2 separate regions of the Homo sapiens genome follow, and region 2 is linked to region 1. The links are contacts of gene promoters, found by promoter capture Hi-C in human tissues and cell types (Jung and others, 2019). All regions are on one chromosome and are shown on one strand. The core of a region is centred on a gene start or on the middle of the fragment in contact, and the rest is flanking DNA. Distances in the headings are between cores, read along the strand shown. Region 1 holds the start of RASGEF1C (RasGEF domain family member 1C). Region 2 holds the start of CNOT6 (CCR4-NOT transcription complex subunit 6).

Region 1 (4,008 bases), core at 876-3,375:
GTAGAAACACACGAAGCTAACAGTGTGTCCGACTGATAACGTCACCACACAGCACTCTGCCTGCACACCCGTGGAAATCCCGATGCTGACCTAGCAGGTTTTGGTTGGCTTCGGTGTGGATGCAGTCATTCTGAAACTCTTTCGGGGTGCATTGTGGAGCTAAGTAAATGATGAAATATATTCATGTTTGGGGGAATAAGGTTCTCACTGCAGGAGAAAGGGAAAGGAAATATTAATTTTTAGTAAAAAAGGGGCCTTGGCTTGGTCCACTGACAAGGCCTAGAGGCGGCGAGTGCACGCCCCACACTAAGCCCGGGTCCCACGCAAGGAACCAAGGCCCCTTGGACAAATGGCTGACTCTGGATCTGGGTCCAGGTACAAGTGAGAGCTGGAACCACCTCAGAGACTGGCGGGGACATGGCAGGAGGGTGCAGACCCCGGCCTGAAAAGGGCCAGGTCCCGGGCAGGGCCCCACCTCTACCTGGTGGCCTGCGGGCTCCCCCTCGCCAGTCCCGCCCTGGGCTCCGCAGCCCGTCCCTCTCTCGCCTGCCCTCCCTCTCCTGCCCCGGCAGTGCGCCCACCCGCCGCCACGGGCAGCCTTTCGACGCCCAACCTGCAAACCGCCTGGGGGCTGCCCAGGACGTCCAGACCCTGTAGCGTCTCAGCTCCAGCTCCGCCCCCTCCTGCCCTCAGGGATCTCACCCGCGCTGTTCCCCCGGGCTACCCGTCCATCACAGGCTGGGCTCCCCGCTCAGGACAGCCTCCCTGACCAGACGAAGGCTCCGCCGCGCCCTGGTCTCCCTCTGCCCCAGTCACCCTACTGCATGTTCTTCCCAGCACGCATAAGATCTTGGCCATGTCCTTGCTTTTGCCTTTGATTTCTTGTTTGGTGTCCCCTCCCACACCAGCTAGTGAGCACTTACGGGGGCAGGCAGCAGGCGGCACACAGTAGGCGCTCAATGAATGTGGCCAGTGAGTGGACAACCCTAGCCCCCCTCCACCGGTCGCCTGCACAGTGGCTGCACTATGGCTGTTGGAGCCAGTCTTACCAGAGGTGGGACCCCAGCGTTGCCACTCCATGGTCCCGCCCCTCTCTAAACCTCAGTTACTCCACCTGCCTGGCAGGCAGAGCTTCCCAGGACTCTTCTCAGGCTCCCGGGGCTCAGAACTTCTGTCTCTCCCACAGCCCCAGGAGGCAGGAGATACGGGCCCGGAAGAGCTCCACCAGCACCCCAACTTCCCAGCTCTGTCTTTCCCACAGTTTCCCACGCCCACGCTGAGCATGGGGCGGCGTCGCCAGCACCCTTCCCCAAGTCCCCCCAAGCATCGCTTTCCCAATCTAAATACAATGAGTGGACCAGGTGGTCCCTTGATGCCGTCCGCTGTCACTGCGTGAGGGACACACCCAGGACTCCCAGCAGACCCCACTGTTCTCGCAGGCCCTCTGATAGTGGCGCTGGTCCTTTCCTCAAATCCGATCCCATCCTCAAGGGTGACAGCACCCTCTTCCCCCAGGCGCAAGGCCCTTTCCCTTCTGCACGTGCACCGGCAGGTCTGCTTTCCCGTCCCCATTTCATAGACGGGGAAACTGAGGTCCGGTGCGGGTGGAGGCTTTGGTCTAGGCTGGCTCTTCCTGCCACTCTAGCGGCTGAAAGAAGCTTGCTCCTCGCGCCCAGCAGGGGCTGGCGGCGCGCGGCAGAGCTGGGTCTCCCGCCAGGTGGCCGGGGGTGTGCCCTCAGGGTACCCTACCCGCTACCCCCGCGCCTCCAGTCCCGGCGGCCGCGCGGACCCCGCCCCTGCTGACCCCGGCGCACGCTCCCGCGCCGCGCGCAGCCTCCCGCCTCCCGCCGACCCCGCCGCGCCGCCGGCAGCCCTCCCCAGCCCCCGCGAGCCCGCGCCCTTGCCCGCACCGCCAGGTGTCCCTCGGCCGCGCACCACTCACCGGCTCCCGGCGCGCCGGAACTCCGGGCCCGGCCCATGGGCAGCTCCCGGTGCGAGCCTCGGCGCCGCGGACCGGGGCGCCGCCCGCCGCCGCCGCCGCCGCCGCCGCCGCCGCCGCCGCCGCCCGACCGCCCGGCTCCCAGCGCAGCCCGCACGAGCGCCTGGCGGCGGCCCCGGAGCAACGCGGCGCTGCGCCCCCTCGTGGCACTCAGGCAGCGCGGAGCGGGCGGGGCGCGGGGGTGGAGCTGCGGGAGCCCGCGGGCGGCGCTGCACACCAGGGCCCTCCGTGCCCCGGCCGCGGAGCCAAGCGTCCCGCCCTGCGTTCAGGCCTCCGCGGCGGCTGGCCCCCCGCGCCAGGACCACCCGCTCGGGCCGTCAGACGCTGCCCTCCCGCGCGCGGACCCTGGCGGACTCTGCGCCCCAGCTGCCCCAGCCTACACCTCACCTGGTGGGCCTCTGGCGCCCCAAAACCCAGTTCACCCTCTCTCCTCAAGACTGGGCCCGGCCCGGTTCTCTGGACTGGCCACCTAGGTTGTCTGTGTCCCCCAATGGGACATCCCTGGGTGGACACCCCCCCTCCCCAACCTTCTCGGCGCTCTCCCGTGGCCCCCAGGGAGGGTGGACACCACTTTGAAGACACCGGGGTTCTGGGAGGATGGCGATGCATGATTTCACTTTTAGAAAGGGAGAGGGGCTCTAACAGGATCCAGTGGCCTCCTTGAACTGGGTCTTCAGTGAAAAGTTCCCTGGTTGGTCCCAGCATAGAGGTCAGGACACCTGTCCTCCTGTGTCCGCAGTTTGTCCCTTCCGCTGGGTTCCTGGTCTGGCTGACTTCAAGAATGAGCCAGGGACCTTGGCAGTGAGTGTTACAGCTCTTAAAGGTGGTGCGACGGTGAAACCCTGTCTGTACTAAAAATACAAAAAAATTAGCCAGGTTTGGTGGTGGGCGCTTGTGGTCCCAGCTATTCGGGAGGCTGAGGCAGGAGAAGGGCGTGAACCCGGGGAGGTGGAGCTTGCAGTGAGCAGAGATTGCACCACTGCACTGTAGCCTGGGCGACAGAGCAAGACTCCATCTCAAAAAAAAAAAAAAAGAAAAGAAAAGAAAAAGGTGGTGCAGACCCAAAGAGTGCGTAGCAGCAAAATGTCTTGTGAAGAGCAAGAGAACAAAGCTTCCACAGCAGGGAAAAAGACCACAGCCGGTCGCCGCTGTTGCTGGCTGGCGAGGGGTGGGCGGGCAGCTTTTATTCCCTTATTTGTCCCCACCCATGTCCTGCTGATTGGTCCGTTTCACGGAGTGCTGATTGGTGCGTTTTTACAGAGTGCTGATTGGTGCATTTACAATCCTCTAGCTAGCCAGAAAAGTTCTCCAAGTCCCCACCCGACACGGAAGTTCCAGCTGCCTTCACCTCACTCTGCTTTAGTCAGGACCTGCCTGATGAGATGTGGCCCAAAACTCAACCCAACCAGCTTGAGCAAAAAGCTGGTTTGTGGATCATAAAAAGCCAAGGTTTACTGCTTAGAGGAATGGCTAGATCCAGGTACTTAACCTATGTGCATAGAAACTGGCCTCCCCTATCTCCCAGTCTTTCTGTGGCAGAATGGCCCTGGGTTGACACCTCAGAGAGGGCACAGCTGCCTGATAGTTGCAAGGACAGCCTGCGGCTGCCACACACAGGCTCCGAGGAGCTGAGCTCAGGCCATTTCCAAAGACCTAGGGAGCAGGAATAGCAGGCCTGGGTGTCGTCTCACTAGAGCTGAGGCAGAGTTAGTCCTGTGTCAGCTTTGAGGATGGAGTAAGGTGCTGTTCCAAGCTTCCGTGAAGGCTGTTCCTGGAAGAATGGACAGGTTAAGAACAACAGTCCAGCCCATTTCTTGAACAGTTAGGGAAACTGAGTCCTGGAGAGAGCAGGCAGCTGCCTAGGGCATACAGATGTATTAGAATGAATGTGGGCCAGGTAGCTAGGCAGGGAGACAGCAGGGCTGGGGCCAGGGCCAGGGCCAGAGGCTGGCCCTAGGGAGGGTGACATCTGAGACCAAGGGTCAGGTGTGGGGAAAGGGAGGAGGAAC
Region 2 (4,417 bases), core at 1,135-3,634, 290 kb after region 1:
CTTGCTCTGTTGCCCAGGCTGGAGTGCCATGGCGCAACCTTAGCTCACTGCAACCTCTGCCTCCTGGATTCAAGCGATTCTCATGCCTCAGCCTCCTAAGTAGCTGGGATTACAGGTGCCCGCCACTGCACCCAGCTAATTTTTTTTTTTTTTTTTGTATTTTTAGTAGAGACGGGGTTTTGCCATGTTGGCCAGGCTGGTCTCGAACTCCTGGCCTCAAGTCATCTGCCCGCCTCGGCCTCCCAAAGTGCTGGGATTACAGGCGTTGAGTCCCCGCACCGGGCTGAGGTAGCTGCCTCTGGCCAAATTACAAAAAGGCACCCAGGCTGGAGCACAGACGGCCAGGGCACTCACACAGGGAGGAGAGGCCCTGCAGGGTGTCTGTCCCATTGGCCCCTCAGCCTGGGATACTCTGTACAGCACAGGGCCGCACAACTCCCTGCTGTACAGGAGGAGGTTGTGGAGGGATGGCCACAGGCAGCTTACTGGTCTACATGTGTTCTTCCTGACTCCTAAACTTCTGCACTGCTCTGTCTTTGCCCAGTGTCCTATGGCGCTAGAGGCCTGGGCTGTCACTCCTGATGTCATGGCAGTGCCAAGCGATGACCATCCCAAGGCCGTGCTGGGGAGAGGGGGATCATCTTCACCTCTGAACAGCTTTTGTCCCTCATCCTTTCCTTGCCCTTCCAGCCAGGTCTCCTCCACCCCAGGCAACAGCAACCCATTTCCCACATCCCCAGCTCTCAACAGCCTTCACTGAAGCAGAAGCCTCGGTTTGTTGCTACTGTTAGTTCCTGGAACCTGTCTCACTCTCATTTCTTCAGGGTTGATTTTCCAGGAAGCAGTTAGCAGCCTATCCTAGTTTGCCACATAGGTGGGCAGGCAGCTTTCCTTTTCCTTCACGCCTTCAACATATAGCTCAAATTTTTTTTTTTTTTTTGAGACAGGGTTTCGCTCTTGCTGCCCAGGCCTGAGTGCAATGGTGCGATCTCCGCTTACTACAACCTCCGCCTCCCAGGTTCAAATGATTCTCCTGCCTGCCTCAGCCTCCCGAGTAGCTGGGATTACAGGTGCAAGCCACCAGACCTGGCTAATTTTTTGTACTTTTAGTAGGGACGAAGTTTCGCCATGTTGGTCAGGCTGTTTTCCAACTCCGGACCTCAGGTGATCTGCCCCCCTCGGCCTCCCAAAGTGCTGGGATTACAGGCGTGAGCCACCGCGCCCGACCAATATACCTCCAATATTAAGTCTGTTGGGTGTTATTCTTGCCCCTAGACTGTGAGCTTACTCAGGGCTGGGTGGGGTCTGATTCATCTCTGTGCCCTGACCATCAGTCAACTAATATTTCTTGATGTAAGCATCATGAATCAGCCCAGTCATTTCTCTGCTGACCTTCAAACACCAGAGTTTGCCCTGAACACCTTTTGATCTTGGAGCACAGCAGCTGCTGTCCGTTACCCAGGCTAGGACCCCAGCACCAAAACTGTCCATTAATGTAATGGAATGAATTACCATTAATAGGCTGAAGTGGTATGTTAACTTACTCTTCTTTGTATAATTGAGGAAGGAATAATATTCGACTGTTCACGATTGAATGTCTTGTCTTTAGGCAGATCAAGATACTGGCTCCGGTCAAATACTGTGTTTCGACGTGATTGACAGGCGAAGGCTTAAGGAAAAGGAAGAGGAGAAAAAAAGGGGAGGACGATCAAGGAAAAGAGGAGATAAAAGTGGACAACCCAGCCGGGCGCGGTGGCTCACGCCTGCCATCCCAGCACTTTGGGAGGCGGAGGTGGGCGGATCACGAGGTCAGGAGATGGAGACCATCCTGGCTAACACGGTGAAACCCCGTCTCTACTAAAAATACAAAAAATGAGCCGGGCGCGGTGGCGGGCGCCTGTAGTCCCAGCTACTCGGGAGGCTGAGGCAGGAGAATGGTGTGAACCCGGGAGGCGGAGCTTGCAGTGAGCCAAGATCGCCCCACTGCACTCTGGCCTGGGTGAAAGAGCAAGACACCGTCTCAAAAAACAAAAAAAAAGTGGACAACCTGGGGCGGAAAAAGAAGTAGATGAAAAATGGAGGAGCGCTAAGGAGAGGAGAAAACAGAAGTGCCAAGGCAGGAAAGGAGCGAGGAGAGCGGGAACAGAAGGAGACGAAGGATGGACGGAGAGGAAGGGATGGAGGGCGGCAGGCAGGGAGGCAGGGCCCGCAGCGCGCCGGGCCGGTCCACCGCTCTCCAGCGCGGGGGTAAGGGGGCGGGGCCTGGGCAGCTGCGTGCCGGGAGCGACCCCCGCACCGAAGGGCGGATGGTTGTGCCCGGCGACGGCGCCCAATGAGCGGCCAGGATGTTGGAGCGCCGGCGGCGGTCCGGGCGCTCGCTGGCTGAGGGACGGCGGCCGCCGCCATGATGCTTGTTTGCTTTCAATGAAAACGAGGGGGGCGCGGAGGAGGAGGCGGCGGCGTCGGTGGCGGCGGCGACGGCGGCGCGGAGGCGAAGGCAGCGGCGGGCGCAGCGAGGAGGGCGAGGCCGGGGGCCGAGAGGGCGGGAGGGCGTAGTGGCGGCCCGTCGGGGCGGCTGAGGCGGGCAGCCGAAGCAGTGGCTCTCGGAGGGGGAACAAAGAGCAGCGACTAAGGCGGCAGAGGAGCGGCGGCGGTGGCGGCGCTGCAGCAGCGGGCGGGACTGGTATGGTGGTTCCACAGGGCAGACCCCGCTGCACTCACAGGGAGGAGGAGGCGGCAGCGGCGGAGGAAGGCGGCGCACCCCGAGAGGTGAGCGAGGCAGGCCGGAGGCCCGGTCGGGGCGCCGCTCCTCTCTCCGGCCGCGCACGGACCGCCCCCCGTCGGCCGGGCTCGGTCGCGGGCAACTTTCGTTTCGTGGGCGGCGGTCCCGCTGCTCCGCAAGCTGGCGGCTGTTGGGGGCCCCTTCGACGCGCCGCGATCGCGCCCCGCCCCGGGCCGCGCCCCCGGGCCGAGTCCCTGGGAGGGGGGCGTTGATTGACGGCGGCGGCGGCGGCGCGCAGAGGGGAGAGGGTCGGCGCTGGGCTCCCGGATCCCGGCCGGTCCCGGCTGCCGTCGTCGGAGGAGGCGAGTCCGTGTCCCGGGACTCGTGGCCAAGATGGGTGGCAACTTTTGAGAAGCGCCTCTGTGGGTGGCGCGCTGTGTGGAGTGTGGAGCTTCGCGCTCCGTGGCCACAATTACTGTCAAGCGGGAAACCAACTGCTTACCCCCTCCCCTAAAATGTTTTTAAAATTCAGTTTAACGCAGATTTTGAGGGAGAGGACGGGGTGGATTACAGGTTAAAGAAGCACTTGGCATGCAATGAGGATGCTTATTTTATAGTATTGCGAAGGATTCGGAGATTGTACTGGTTTCTACAAGCAGTTTTCTCTGGTAACCCAAATTGCATCCCTCCTTTTTGTTTTTCAGCACTAATCGCTATTTTCTTTGGAAACTTCCTTTGATTCTTTACCTCCTTCACCTTCCCCGAAGAGCCTGCTAACCAACACCTGTGGCCTTCTGTTTTTAACTGTTGTTGCCATTGACAGCGTTGTGAATGGTCATCTCGCTCGAGCTCTTTGGATTTGTTGTTACTGTGTAAGCTGATGTGTTTTAGATAATCTGCTTCAATTTGAGTTCCCATACTTACCTGTTTTCCAGGTGGATTGTCTCATTGTTAGTGCTGAATCTTCTTGCCTACTTGTATCTGGGAATTTAACTTTGAAGAGGAAGAGAGTGAATATGAATAACTGAAAAATAAAATGGTGTGTAGTAGCACTTTGTATTTTTTACAATATACTAGAATTTACTACTCTAGAACAGATTAGTAGGCTGTAGGAGTGGACGTGGGCCATTGATCAAAAGGGTTTAAAGGCTTTTTTGGGGAATTGCTGTTAAGACATTTATCACAGTCTTTATTTAATTTATTTATTGTTTTTGAGACAGGATCTCACTCTGTCACCCAGGCTGGAGTGCAGTGGCACAGTTCTCGGCTCACTGCAGCCTTCGCCTCCTGGGTTCAAGCGATCCTTTTGCCTCACCCTCCTGACTAGCTGGGACTACCGGCAGACACCACCACGGCTAATTTTTTAATTTTTTGTAGAGCCTTGCTCTGTTGCCCAGGCTGGTCTCCGACTCCAGGGCTCAAGCGATCTTCCTTCCTTGGCCTCCCAAAGTGCTGCAATTACAGGCATGAGCCAACATGCCTGGCCATCACAGTGTTTAGAATGTGATGACTTTTAGAGTAAAATTTAGAATAAAAATTGCTTAATATCTTTAGATCTGTGATCTACTCCAGGTGTTTTGCTTTAAACAAAATACATGAACAGCTGCTAATGAGAAGACAGACCTTTCTAGGTGGAGGTGACTTGCCCATGGTACTGTAATGAGGAGGGAAAGGACCGGGTTTGTGTGCGTGTGA

The links. Contacts are between HindIII fragments. The study calls those that stand out against the background at their distance.
Region 2: a contact is called between the fragment with the promoter of CNOT6 here and the fragment with the promoter of RASGEF1C in region 1, in 1 of the 25 tissues and cell types used here (mesendoderm cells).

Annotation. Positions count from the first base shown.
Region 1 is chr5:180,207,086-180,211,093 of GRCh38, forward strand. RASGEF1C (RasGEF domain family member 1C) reads right to left here and starts at 2,126. Exons shown (of 14, transcript NM_175062.4): 1 at 1,943-2,126. RefSeq lists an enhancer at 125-917 and a silencer at 2,042-2,261. The HindIII fragment of the contact is 4,624 bases long and covers 1-3,431 here.
Region 2 is chr5:180,491,995-180,496,411 of GRCh38, forward strand. It overlaps CNOT6 (CCR4-NOT transcription complex subunit 6), which reads left to right and starts at 2,385. Exons shown (of 12, transcript NM_001370472.1): 1 at 2,385-2,769. RefSeq lists silencers at 2,125-2,324, 2,455-2,594, 2,765-2,864, 2,895-3,154. The HindIII fragment of the contact is 24,631 bases long and covers 1-4,417 here.